Linked DNA regions of Homo sapiens: region 1 is linked to region 2. Evidence: promoter capture Hi-C in 16 types of primary human blood cells and fetal thymus (Javierre and others, 2016). All regions are on one chromosome and are shown on one strand. Each heading gives the region's core, a stretch centred on a gene start or on the middle of the fragment in contact. The rest is flanking DNA. Distances are from core to core; before and after follow the strand shown.

What was found. Contacts are between HindIII fragments. The CHiCAGO score rates a contact against its expected background, and 5 or more counts as called.
Region 1: a fragment that was not itself captured here is called in contact with the fragment with the promoter of RTP5 in region 2 in 1 of 17 cell types (naive CD8 T cells); the score reaches 6.5 in naive CD8 T cells.

Annotation. Positions count from the first base shown.
Region 1 is chr2:240,844,081-240,851,358 of GRCh38, forward strand. No RefSeq gene overlaps it. Among named protein-coding and RNA genes, the nearest start is that of AGXT, 21 kb to the right of the region's middle. The HindIII fragment of the contact is 1,916 bases long and covers 3,540-5,455 here.
Region 2 is chr2:241,868,297-241,874,987 of GRCh38, forward strand. It overlaps RTP5 (receptor transporter protein 5 (putative)), which reads left to right and starts at 1,433. Exons shown (of 2, transcript NM_173821.3): 1 at 1,433-1,618; 2 at 3,418-5,527. The coding sequence starts at 1,461. The coding sequence ends at 4,978. RefSeq lists an enhancer at 3,517-4,073. The HindIII fragment of the contact is 6,184 bases long and covers 1-5,700 here.

The DNA of each region.
Region 1 (7,278 bases), core at 3,248-5,747, 1.0 Mb before region 2:
ACAGACATTCACCTTCTATTCTCTCTGAAGACTGCGACCTGGGAGGCTTCAACTGCATAACAAGAACCGTGCTCTCCACAACCCCCTTATCTTAACCCAAGCCTTTCTTTCTACTGACTTCAAGTCTTTAAACAAAGTCTAGCTCTTTCAACCAATTGTCAATCAGAAAATCTTTGAATCCATCTGTGACCTGTAAGCACCCCAACTTGGAGATGTCCCATCTCTTTAGGCAATTTACACCTTCCATGTATTGATTTATGTCTTTGCCTGTAACGTCTGTCTCCCTAAAATGTATAAAACCGAGCGGTGACCCGACTCCCTGGGCACACTTTCTCAGGAACTCTTGAGACTGTTCCCCGGGCCATGGTCACTCATATTGGCTCAGAAGAAACCTCTTTAAATATTTTATGGAGTTTGGTTTTTCTTTGAACAGGTTACAGAAAGAATGGAGGCTCAAGCACGGCCAAAAACAGATCCCAGTGGCATGGCAGGTTTTGGGAGGGGGAGAAGAGGAGGCCAGGCTCACCAGGTTAGGGGACCTCACAGCTAGCAAATGGTAAATGCTGCTTTTAGCCTTTAAGGGTGACAGACTGATATGGTTTGGCTCTGTGTCCCCACTCAAATCTTACCTTGAATTTTAATAACCACCACATGTCAAGGGTGGAACCAAGTGCAGATAATTGAATCACAGGAGTGGTTTCTGCAATGCTGTTCTCCTGATAGTGAGTGGGTTCTCACAAGATCTGATGATTTTATAAGGGGCTTCACTTGGCATTCCTTCTCCTTCCTGCCATCATGTGAAGAAGGACATGTTTGCTTCCCCTTCCACCATGATTGTAAATTTCCTGAGGCCTCCCCAGCCCTGTGGAACTGTAAATCAATTAAACCTCCTTCCTTTGTAAATTACCCAGTCTCAGGCAGTTCTTTAATGCAGCATGGGAAGGGAGTAATATCGTAAACTCTTACCACAGAGAGTGGGGTGCTTCTGTAAAGATACCCAAAAATGTGGAAACAACTTTGGAACTGGGTAACAGGCAGAGTTTGGAACAGTTTGGAGGGCTCAGAAGAAGACAGGAAAATATGGGAAAGTTTGGAACTTCCTAGAGACTTGGAGGGTTCAGAAGACAGAAAGATGTGGGAAAGTTTGGAACTTCCTGGAGAATTATTGAATGGCTTTGACCAAAATGCCAATAGTGATATGGACAACGAAGTCCAGGCTGAGGTGATCTCAGATGGAGATGGGGAACTTGTTGGGAATGGGAATAGAGGTTACTCTTGCTGTGCAAAGAGACTGGGGGCATTTTGACCCTGCCCTAGAGATCTATGGAAAGCTGAACTTGAGAGAGATGATTTAGTGTATCTGGTGGAAGAAATTTCTAAGTGGCAAACTGTTCAAGAGGAAGCAGAGCATAAAAGTTTGAAAAATTTGCAGCCTGATGATGCAATGGAAAAGAAAACCCATTTTCTGGGGAGAAATTCAAGCCAGCTTCAGAAATTTGCATAAGTAATGAAGAGCTGAGTGTTAATCACCAAGACAATGAGGAAAATGTCTCCAGAGCATGTCAGAGACCTTCACAGCAGCCCCTTCCATCAAGGGCCCAGAGGCCTAGGAGGGAAAAAGGGTTTCCTGAGTTGGGTCCAGGGCCCCCCTGCTGTGTGCAGCCTTGGAACTTAGTGCCCTTCGTCCCAGCCACTCCAGCCATGGCTAAAAGGAGCCAACATACAGCTCAGGCCATTGCTTCAGAGGGTGCAAGCCCTAAACCTTGGCAGCTTCCATGTGCTAATGGGCTTGTGGGTGCCCAGAAGTCAAGAATTGAGGTTTGGGGAGCTCCCAATCCCTAGATTTCAGAGGATGTATGGAATTTCCAGAATGTCCAGACAGAAGTTTGCTGTAGGGCAGAGCCCTCATGGAGAACCTCTACTAGGGCAGTACAGAAGGGACTGTGGGGTCAGAGCCCCCACACAGAGTCCCCACTGGGGCACTGCCTAGTGGAGCTGTGAGAATAAGGCCACCATCTTCCAAACTCCAGAATGGTAGATCCACCGACACCTTGCGCTGTACATCTGGAAAAGCTGCAGACACTCCATAGCCAGCCCATGAGAGCAGCCAGGTGGGGGGAGGGGAGGTGTTGTACCCTGCAAAGCCACAGGGGCAGAGTTGCCCAAGGCCATGGGAGACCACCTCTTGCATAAGCATGACCTGGATGTGAAACATGGAGTCAAAGGAGATCATTCTGGAACTTTAAGGTTTAATGACTGCCCTGTTGGATTTCAGACTTGCATGGGGCCTGTAGCCCCTTTGTTTTGGTCAATTTCTCCCTTTTGGAATGGGTGTATTTACCCAATTCCTGTACCCTCATTGTATCTAGGAAGTAACTAACAAGCTTTTGATTTTACAAGCTCATAGACAGAAGGGAATTGCCTTGTCTCACATGAGACTTTGGACTTGGACTTTTGTGTTAATGCTGAAATGAGCTAAGACTTTGGGGGACTATTGGGAGGGCATGATTGTGTTTGAAATGTAAGGATACGAGATTTGGGAGGGGCCGGGGTGGAATGATATGGTTTGGCTCTGTGTCCCCACCCAAATCTCACCTTGAATTGTAATAATCCCCATGTGTCAAGGGCAGAACCAGGTGGAGGTAACTGAATCATGGGGGCAATTTCTGCCATGCTTTTCTCATGATAGTGAGTGAGTTTTCATGGGATGTGATGGTTTTATAAGGGGCTTCCTCATTTGCTTGGCACTCTTTCTCCTTCCTGCCTCCATGTGAAGAAGGATGTCTTTGCTTCCCCTTCTGCCATGATTGTAAGTTTCCTGAGGCCTCCCCAGCCCTGCATAACTGTGAGTCAATTAAACCTCCTTCCTTTAAAAAATTACCCAGTCTCAGGCAGTTCTTTATGATAGCGTGAGAACAGGCTAATACAGACTCTCAGCTTATCTTTCCTAAATACAGAAAAATGAGGGCCTCAGCAAAAGCCTGGCTGCATCAATGCAGGTTTTCTATACAGATGCAAATTTCCCCACAAAAGAAAGCTTTGCAGGGCTGCTTCTGTTTTCAGGCCCTCTGAACAGCCATCTCAAAATATGTCAAAGAAGTTTATTTGTGGGGGATATATTTTGGTTTCCTTTCTGGTGGAAGCTCAGATCCTGGGGGAAGGTGAGCCTCCAGGCCTGCCTCCTTCTCTCCCTCTCCGCTGCCCAGAAACTCCTGGGACAGGGAGTCTGGACCCTGGTGAGAGAATCTGAGAGAGTGGGCTGGCCAGGCAGCCAGGGCAGGGCAGCCACACAGCCCTGCAGAGAGCACTGGCCGGACCTGTGGCACAGCTGGCCTCCTGCCAGGAGCTGCCCGTGTGCCAGGCACCATGGCCAATCCCTTCCCTGTCAACCCTAAATAAAGAGATTCAGAAAACAGGATGAAATGGACAGTTAACTTGAGCACAGAGCATAAGGACAGCCACCTGGGAGCACAGACTCCAAAGAGTGGGAGTTGGTGCTCCGAAGTTCTGGGGGCTATTTGTATAGATAAGGTTTGGGAAGCTTAACAGGTGATATGGTTTGGCTGTGTCCCCACCCAAATCTCATCTTGAATTGTAGTTCCCATAATTCCCAGATGTCATGGGAAGAACCCAGTGGGAGGTAACTGAATCATGGGGACAGTTTCCCCTATCCTGTTCTCATGATAGTGAGTGAGTTATCATGAGATCCTATGGTTTTATAAGAGGCTCTTCCCCCTTCACTCTGCACTTCTCTCTCCTGCCACCATGTGAAGAAGGACTACAGTTGTACATTCGAGGTAAGGAACACCGTTGGGCATTAGAGGGAGAGGAGCACCACTGTACTTTAGAGGGTGAGGTGCACCATTAGGCATTAGAGAGTGAGGAGCATGGTTGTGCATTAGAGTGTGACAAGCACCATTGTACATTAGAGGGTGAGGAGCACCGTTGTACATTAGAAGGTGAGGAGCACCATTGTGCGTTAGAGGGTGAGGAGCACCGCTGTACATTAGAGGGTGGGGAGCACCACTGTGCGTTAGAGGGTGAAGAGCACCGCTGTGCGTTAGAGGGTGGGGAGCACCGCTGTACGTTAGAGGGTGGGGAGCACCGCTGTGCGTTAGAGGGTGAAGAGCACCGCTGTGCGTTAGAGGGTGGGGAGCACCGCTGTGCGTTAGAGGGTGGGGAGCAGGGCTGTGCGTTAGAGGGTGGGGAGCACCGCTGTGTGTTAGTGGGTGGGGAGCACCACTGTGCGTTAGAGGGTGGGGAGCACTGCTGTGCATTAGAGGGTGAAGAGCACTGTTGTGTTAGAGAGTGGAGAGCACTGCTGTGTGTTAGAGGGTGAGGAGCACTGCTGTGCATTAGAGGGTGGGGAGCACTGCTGTGTGTTAGAGAGTGGGGAGCACTGTTGTGTTAGAGGGTGGGGAGCATCACTGTACATTAGAGGGTGGGGAGCACCGATGTGTGTTAGAGGGTGGGGAGCACCGCTGTGTGTTAGTGGGTGGGGAGCACCGCTGTGCGTTAGAGGGTGGGGAGCACTGCTGTGTGTTAGAGGGTGGGGAGCACTGTTGTGTTAGAGAGTGGAGACCACTGCTGTGTGTTAGAGGGTGGGGAGCACCGCTGTACATTAGAGGGTGGGGAGCACTGCTGTGTGTTAGAGGGTGGGGAGCACCGCTGTACATTAGAGGGTGGGGAGCACTGCTGTGTGTTAGAGGGTGGGGAGCACTGTTGTGTTAGAGGGTGGAGAGCACTGCTGTGTGTTAGAGGGTGAGGAGCACTGCTGTGCGTTAGAGGGTGGGGAGCACCACTGTACATTAGAGGGTGGGGAGCACTGCTGTGTGTTAGAGAGTGGGGAGCACTGTTGTGTTAGAGGGTGGGGAGCACCGCTGTACATTAGAGGGTGGGGAGCACTGCTGTGTTAGAGGATGCGGAGCACTACGGTACATTAGAGGGTGGGGAGCACTGCTGTGTTTTAGAGGGTGGGGAGCACTGTTGTGTTAGAGGGTGGAGAGCACCGCTGTACATTAGAGGCTGAGAGCACTATTGAAGTTTAAAGGGTGTATTAGTCATTCTCACCTGCTCTTAAGGAATACCCAAGACTGGATAATTTACAAAGGAAAGAGGTTTAATTGACTCACAGTTCTGCATGTGGGGAGGCCTCAGGAAACTTACAATCACGGCAGAAGGAGAAGTAAACTCGTCCTTCTTCACTAGGCGGCAGGAGACAGAAGAGTGAGGAACAAAGGGGGACGAGCCCCTTATAAAACCATCAGATCTCGTGAGAACTCACTCACTATCATGAGAACAGCATGGGGAAACTGCCCTCATGATCCAATCACCTCCCACCAGGTCTCTCCCTATATATATAAAACGGGGATTAAGGGGATTACAATTCCAGATGGGATTTGGGCGGGGACACAACCAAGTCACATCAGAGGGTGAGGAGCACCGCTGACACTAAAGCTTGAGTCCTGGGCCCCACAGCATGTGATACTGGGACTTGTTTACATCTCAATTCTTTAAAAAGATGTCTTTTAGATGACTGGGCAAACATGTCTATGGCCAGGCTCCCAGGTGATAGAAAGGAATTGTTATTGGCTTTTTTAAGTGTGACAATGGCATTGAGGCTGTGTGAAAAAGGTCCATCTTTTTAGGTGTGCACTGGAAGATCTGGGTGGAAGAACACACTGTCGGGGTTTGCTTTAAATCTTCAGCAAAATTAAACAAGTAATACGGAGGGGGTCCTGAGAAAAGAAGCTGGACAGCAGGACGCTGCCGGCTGTTGAGGCCGGTGCTGGCGCCAACAGTTTCACTGTCCTCATGTCTGTGCCATTGGAGAACGTCCTCATTACTTAGAAGATATTTTAAAATGGGACAGCTGTGACGTGTGCTTCAGTGGGAGGCTCCCTCCTCCCTCACAAGGAGGTTTGGCTTCCTTCCCCATAGAAGATTCTCCCCATTACCCCAGGGCTAAGCTGAGGGAGGAACAAGAGGGCTCACCCCACAGACCTTACAGAGCTGTCCTGAGAAGAAGTGGAGGCTGGGCCAGGGATGGGGTTTGCCCAAGGACACACTGCAGGTTGAGGGCAGAGCCAGGCACTGAGCTTGTCGAGAAGGCCGAGAAGCAGCCCCGAAGTTCAGGGCCCATGGCTACGCCAAGTGCCATCAGGAACCGGGCTGTGGAAGCCCCTAAGGACGGCCAGAAGGACCAATCTAGGGGCCTTCATAGCAGCTCACTCACCACGGGGAAGAGACAGTGCAGGGGCAGGAGCAGTGAAGGGCGGTGGGCGCTGCCCAGGGCAGGCCCAGCCAGGGCAGTGAAGGGCGGTGGGCGCTGCCCAGGGCAGGCCCAGCCAGGGCAGTGAAGGGCGGTGGGCGCTGCCCAGGGCAGGCCCAGCCAGGGCAGTGAAGGGCGGTGGGCGCTGCCCAGGGCAGGCCCAGCCAGGGAGGGTAGTCAGGCTGGTCTAGGGGCCAGAGCCCTGCGTGAGAAAGCCCCACCCACTGCTTGTTGATGACGAATGGTGGCAGATGGGGGTCAGAGGGCACTGGGAGCACCAAGGCTGGACGGGGAGATGAAGACAGGATGGCTGGGCTACAGAAGGCAAGAGGCACATGAACCCCACAGACATTTCCACTGGAACCCCCGTCAGAGCCACCTGGGTACCCTCTGAGTCATTCAAGTGGAAAAACAAATCCACAAACAAGTCCCTCCCTGCTTAAACCTGACCGACTGCCTCCTGACCATCCTCTGGTCACGCCTGAACTCTGGGCCCCCTGCTGCCGTCCCCCATTGCTGCCGTCCCCCACTGCATCCACCCCATGTGCAGGCTGCTCCCACCCCAGAAGCCTCGAAGGCCAGGGACCCGTGGGGTCCCTCCGTGACTCGGTACCCTTCCCCTCGCTGTCCCCTGAGTTTCCTTCAAATCAGGAAGCCTCCACCAGCCCTGGCCCGCTGGCTGGGTCCCTCCCCGAGAGCCAGGTCACCTGTCACTGTCTCTCACCATCCTCAGCCCCATGGACTGTGCTGCAGGTGGCCACTGTCACGTCACCCAGGCCAAGCACACCCGTCAGGATTCCCAAGGCAGGTCGGTGTCCAGCCGCTTCCCTGAGGCTGCAGGCCCAGGCGGGCTGCGGAGTCTGTGCCTACATACCGCGGGCCGAGCTTGCTCCAGGCAGGGACGGCGCGGGAGGCACAGGTCCTCTTTGGGCCTTTCTGCAGGTCCTCCTGCCCCACATGGACATGCCAGCTGTCACTTGCACCATCAGGAAGAACAAGAATCCTGT
Region 2 (6,691 bases), core at 183-2,682:
TGCTCCTTGGGCTCACAGCTCTGTGCTTGAGGCAGGTCTAAGACAGGCTGGAGTGCGGCCATCATCCCAGCACTGATGGATAGAAGAAAATGAAGCTGGGATGAGAAACGCGGGGCTTTCCCTGGCAGTCTGGCCCTGTATGGAGGCCCCTTCCCAGAGTGCGTCCCACTGGCTTCCTCTTCTATCTTGCAGTCACACCTAGCTGCAAGGCGGGAAGATGTCACAGGTTTGAAAGGGCCGAAAAGAAGGTTCAGAAATGAAAACTATGACAAGGCGCTTGCCAGCATTAGCTGCAGAGTCGACAGAGACGAGGAGATAATGTGTGAAGTGGTAGAAAAATGAGAAGAGATTGTTCAGTGTGCAGGGCAGAGAGATGGCGAGATGGGAGCTGTGAGGAGAGCCGGGTGGCCGGGAGCCTCCCGGGGGCAGATCTGTGCTGAGGTTTTGCAGGGATCAGCTGGCTGTCTCCGCCCCTGCACGTCCCGGCTCCTTCTCAGCTCACCCTTTCTTGTTGTGCCATGACAGGTGGCTGCCACGCACAGCAATGCTGTTGAATCTCAGAAATTAAACAACCTGAAAAGGCGTGAGAAGCTGGGCACATGCATGAATTGTTTATGTAAAGCTCAGAAGCTGCACAGCTAAAGGGCTCGGTGAGGGAGGCATCATAGGTGTTGAAGCCTCAACGTTGTCTGTGCAGGCACGGCCAGGCTGGTGGCACCTCTGCCAGGAGGGCAGGGGGTGGGGGTGGGGCCGCGGGCTGAGATCGGGAGGGAACAGGCAGCCAGCTCTGGAGGCTGGCAGAGCGAGGTTTTGTTTCTTCCTATAGGACGTGGTGACTTAAGACTTTAGAATAATTTGTGAAGCTCTGCATTTATGTTTTAGGCATTTTATGTAAATATTTTATATTTCTCACTAGTAAAAAGTTTAAGAGAATACACCCACGGGACAATCTGCAATGATACACGTTCTATAAAGTTCTTCTCAGCTTTGTTTGTGTGAAAAGCATTAGTGCTGTTTGCAGAGAGAAGCTGAGTGAATAAGTTACATGATAGCCACAAGCTGGAAAAATACCAAGTGTTCAGCAAGGGATGAGTGTGGGCCACCGCTCCTGATGTGCACTAGAAAGAGAGGGCTGTGGATGATTCCTTGGTGCGATGTGTGAAAACACCCGGGCCTCTACACGCACGGGTCTGGGGAGGCCCCTGCGTGTCCACGGGCCCACGCCCACCACCACCACCACGGTGCTGCCACAGGGATGCTCTCTGGGGGGCGGGGTCATGGGAGATTGCATTGTATTGTATTTTTCCTTTCTGCTTCCCATTTCTCGGAGACAAATCTGGTTGCCATGGAGACCATGCTGTTGTCAAGGTGGCTGATTGGCCGGCGCGGGATGCGGGGACGTTTCCTTGGGCCCCCGGCGGGCGCAGCCCTCAGCCCACACTGCGGAGCCAGGCGGCAGCATGGACCGGGCTGGGGCAGACATGTGGGCCAGCACCTTCACCCTGGCCATGGCCGAGAGGAAGCCCCAGGACGTCTGGGTTCTGCTACCTGAGCACAGCCTGGTCCCGGGATGCCTGGACGGCGGTGGTGTCCAGTACCTGCTGGTGGGGCTCTCGAGGTGCGGCCAGAGGTTGGGGACCCTGGGAGAGGCAGGGGGCTGAAGGTGCTTTTCCACGGGACCTTGGGTGGTCCCAGAGGCTGGGTGGGGCTGTTGGGCCTCGTCTTGTCCCCGAGACGGGAGGGTGGGGCTGGGTGCTCCTTCTCCCGCCGGAGCCCCTGCCTCGCCATGCTGGGCACACGGCTGCTGACGCAGGGGTCCCGGGGAAGACATGGCGGGTGCCTCATGGAGAGTTTGGTTTCCCTCACTCGGCTCCTTGGGCCAGCGCTGCCCTTGGACACAGGCTCATCTCCTGCTTCCATGGCACTGCCGTGGTCTCGCAGCCATCAGTGCTGACAGGTGGGCCCTGGGGCGTGCCGGAGCCTGTGGTCACCATCCGGCCCTGTGTTGCACACAGCGGGGTGCTCGGCCCTGATCGGGGGCCCGGGGTGGCTGTGGGTCACAAGTGAGCCTCACAGGCCGTCATCACGGTTGTGGTGCCGTCAGCGCAGCAGGGCGGGCGCCATGCGCTTCTCCAACTGGCAAGGCATCCACAGCTCGGCCGGGTGCCAGCTGGGAGGGGCGCGGGGCAGCTCCACATCCTCGCAGATGCCCGGCCTGACAGGCCCCCAGGCTGCTGGCTGGTCCGTCCCTCTGTGGAGACACCCTGGGCAAAGGGGGAGTCGTCCTGCCCTTTGACACAGCTCCTCAGTGCCTGAGACCCCTGGGGCCAGGTGTGTGCAGAATCCCAGCTTTTTCAGAAGCTGGGAAAGTAATAACCCGTGTTGGGGTCTGAGAAGTGCTGGGAAGCACATCACTGTTCCCACAGCCAGGTGGAGATGGCTCTGAGCGGCTCCCAGCTGGCGGGAGAGAACTGAGGACGGCTGCCCCAACATGCAGCCCCAGCGCCCGTGGCTTTGGCTCCTCAGTCCCATTTAAATAAAGTCAGCAGTTCAGTTCCTCCAGCACGAACGTGTCCACGGGCTCTGTGGCCAGTGTGGTTGGAGGCTGCAGGCAGGGCAGTGTGGCTATAGAACATTCTGTCATCCAGAAACTTCCACTGCCTGGAACTGAATCATAGCCTCTCACTCATGCAGGGTTCCCTGAAGCTCACAGCTGCTTGTGTGGCTAGCAAATGGTCACCGGTCTGATGACCGCCATGGACAAGCCAATCCCTCCCAGTGCTCTCCCCAAACCTCTCCTCGCCTGGTGACGCCCAGCAGGGCTGCCCGGGCCATGACCGCAGGCCTCCGTGACATCCTTCCCCTCAGCTGGCAGGCGACCTCCTGGATCGCCTCCTCTCAGTCAGGACAGGGACCCCCACTTGCTGAGCCCCCAGGGACAGCCCCCACATGCATGCTTTTCCCCTCCTAAGTGTGTCGGCAGGCCTGCCTCTTCCTGTGTTAACCCCAACTCACAAAACACCAGCAGAGCCACGCAGGTGGCAGGCTGCCGACGCCTCACGGAGGCCAGGCTGGAGCGGGTTTTGTTGAAAAACTGCTGAGAGGAGGTTTGCTTTGCTTCTCAGTGCTCCACATGAGGGGGCTGCGGGCTAGTGCGCATGGGCCTGCTTTTGCCTGTGTGTGGCCGAGGGGCTGGTGGTTTCAGAGCCTCGGCACAGGCAGGAGCAGGTGCTAGGCTGCCTTGGCCGCGGCCCTGGGTGGCTGGGGGGTGAGGTTTGAGGTTTGAGTGTGGGATGTGAGGCAGGGGGCAGCGAGGCGCTGGGGTCGGATGGGCAAGGAGGCCGCAGAGCAGAGTGCGAGGGCTGGGCGTGGGGCCTCTTTCTCCTGCACTCACACACACTTCTTTCCCCGCCGCAGGCTCCAGTGCGGTCACTGTCCGGGGACCTGGGACTCGGCCCATGTGCACGTCCTCTTCCACCTGTGGTGGGACAGGGCCAGCCACCGGGGGCTGGTGAAGATGCGCATCTGGGGCCAGCGGTGCAGGCTGTGCCCCGCACCCGGGGACTGCCAGGTGAGGCCCCCGGGCGAGCAGCCCTTCCTCAGCAGGCTGGTCTTGCACATCCTGCAGGACTGCTACGGGGATGGCCCCGGCCCAGCCCGGCACCCCAGGGAGGCCTATGAGGGCTGCTGTGAGGCCTGTGAGCTGGGGGTCTGCTTCCTCCAGAAGGCCCCAGACCCCGCCTGGAGCGCCAACGCCACAAAAGGCAACTTCCCCGCCACGGCCTGGGGTGGCACTGGCACCGTCTCCAGGGGCAAACCGCTGTCCACCCCTGGCGACGACCTTGGCAAGGGTGGCGTTGTCATCGCCATCCCCTTCTCCCTTGTGGGTACCAGCAATGACCAGGTGCCCATCGCTGAGGGCCCTGCCCCCCCTGCGGGGGCCTCTCTCCCTGTGACTGGCAGCTGTGAGGCCCTGGTCATCGGCCAGGGCTCCATCTTCCTGTCTGGGGATTCAGTGGCCATGCCTGGGGGCAAAGGCTTCCCGGTGGCCATTGGAGACCCCCTCTTCCACGGCCCCGGCCTCCTCGGCAGCAGCATCCAGACCTTCGAGCTCAAGGGCTTCCTCTTCAAAGGCCGGGGCTCCCTCTGCAGCCCGGTTGGCGTGGCCCAGGGCTGGGGCCCCATCTCCCTCAACAATGGCCTCGTCCCTGTGGGGAAACACACGCCAACCGTGTTCTACTGTGTGGGCCTCTCGGCCAGCGGGGAGGGCTCCCTCACCTTCCCCTCCTCCCTCACCAGCATCTTCACCAACACCCTCTCGGAGCCCACCGATGGCCCTGTGGCCACTAAAGAGGCCTCCATCACCTTCCCCTTCATCTTTACTGATGTCAAGGATGCCGTTGCTGAGGTGGCTGAAGGCAACGGGAAGGAAGGAGGCGGCCAGGGCCTCGTCCCAGTGGGTCACGACGCCCTGCCAGAGACCAATGCTGGTGGCCTCCCCTCCCAGGTCAAGGGCTCCCTTGCCCTCCCCTTCCCTGCTGATGTCCAAGGCAAAGATGCCTTTACTGACATCACTGAAGGCAAAGAGAAGGAAGGTGGCCTGGTCACCGCGGGTCACGACGCCCCTCTGGAGGCCAATGCCGAGGGCCCCATCACGGTTAGTGAGGGCTGCATCACCATCCCCTTCGCAGTCTTCGATGTCATAAAGCGCAAGGGCGGTGGCCACGTTGCCTACGGCCCCCAGGGCAATGGCTGCTTCTCCCAAGGCTATTACCAGAAGAGGCAGCTGAGGTCCAGGTTCCACAAGGCCCGCTGTGGGTGCCGCCGGGAGGAAGACGAGCGCCCTGGCCGTGCCTGCCGTAGGCCGCACGCCGAGCCCTACGAGGACTTCTGGATCTGGGTGTCCATGACCGTGTGCGTCTTCTGGCTGATGTGCATGTGTCGGCTGAACCCCGGGATCTACCCGCAGCAAGTGTGACGCCCCGAAGTTCAGGCAACCCTCGCCTCTGGGACCCCGCCTCGCCTCTGAGACACCCCCCAACCCCGCCTTTGAGATGCCCGCCCCGCCTCCGAGACCCCGCCTCCACCTCCGAGACCCCTTTCTCTGAGACCCCCGCCTCTGAGGCCCCGCCCCCCGCCTCCGAGACCCCGCCCTGCCTCTGAGACCCCGCCTCACCTCTGAGACACCCCCCAACCCCACCTTTGAGATGCCCGCCCCGCCTCCGTGGCCCCGCCTCCACCTCCGAGACCCCGCCTCCACCTCCGAGACCCCTTTCTCTGAGACCCCTGCCTCTGAAGCCCCGCCCCCCGCCTCCGAGACCCCGCTTCACCTCCGAGGCCCCGCCCCCCGCCTCCGAGACCCCGCCCCCCGCCTCCGAGACCCCGCCTCACCTCTGAGACCCCGCCCCCGCCAGCAGCTCAGCCCCTCCTGTCTCTTGCCCCTGGTTTTGTGGGTCTGCCCTGAGCTGTGCCTGTGTGCTCCAGCCTCTTCCTATGTGTGTAACTTCAATAAAACCAAGCAAAGCCAGCCACGCAGCCCTCCACCTAGGGGAGGTTTCCAGGTGAGAGAAACCTGGGCCGGTCCTTCTGTCCCTCCACCCTGCAGGGGCCCCTCACGCCCACCGCTTCTTCCCCTGGGGAGAGCTCCCTCTTGGGGATTCCGAATTCCTGGCCATGTGTGGCTCCTGGGATAGGAGAGGAAGCTTTGGCTCCGGCTCCGTGTCAGGTGCAAATTAACCTCCCTCCTGTGTGGACCCAGGGGTCTTGTGGAAGAGGCCACTTACCTCTCTCCAGGAAAGACTCAAGCCCCCACTGAGACTGGCTTGTCACGCCCTCCCTCTTCCCTCCAGCCTCAGTGTAGCCTCTGGAGGGATCTTGGCACCTCTCATCCAGAGGGTGGGAGGCCACGGTGGGGCTCTGAGCTTGTCTGGGTTTGAGAAATTCTATCCATTGCAGATGACAGAAAACTCTCCTGTTACTCAAAGCCACACACTGGATTTTCATTTTAAAAGAGTCCAGTTTCCATTTCCTAGGGGCGGGGGTGTTGGGATTCCCGGCTGTCCCAGCCAGGTGGGGGCCTGACAGTGGCAGTGTCTGGGTCCGACTGTCCGGCCTCTCAGGCAGGGTCAGCCCTGAGGGTCCTGGAAGGTTGGGAACTGCCTGGGGAGACCCTGGGGTCTGTGACTGGGGAAGCCCTGCCCTGTAGAAAGGGGAAACCGCGTCCAGGGCCCCTGGTGGGGAGGGGGGCCAGCCCAGAGATTCTGCCTGCCAGGCTGGCCTGGACCCCTGGGGTGTGCGGGGGAGAAGTGGCAGGGGGGGCGTTCTCCCACACAGCTGTGGTGGGCTCGGATGCAGGTGGTGCGGGGGCTTCAAGGGGAAGCAGCAGAACCTCTTGTCCCAACCCGGCACCCTCTGCTTACCGGGCACCGATGGAGACCCCAGCGGCCCCAGGAGGCTCCACCCTGCACAGAGGCTGGAGACAGCAGCCAGCCTGCGGGTGACACGGATGAGGGTCCAGGAGAAACCCCAATCCAGGTCTCAGGGCCCAATTGCAGGGACAGGGGTCCCAGGAGAAACCCCAATCCAGGGCCTCGGGGGCCAACTGCAGGGACAGGGGTCCCAGGAGAAACCCCAATCCAGGTCTCAGGGGCCGAAATGCAGGGACGGGGGTCCCAGGAGAAACCCCAATCCA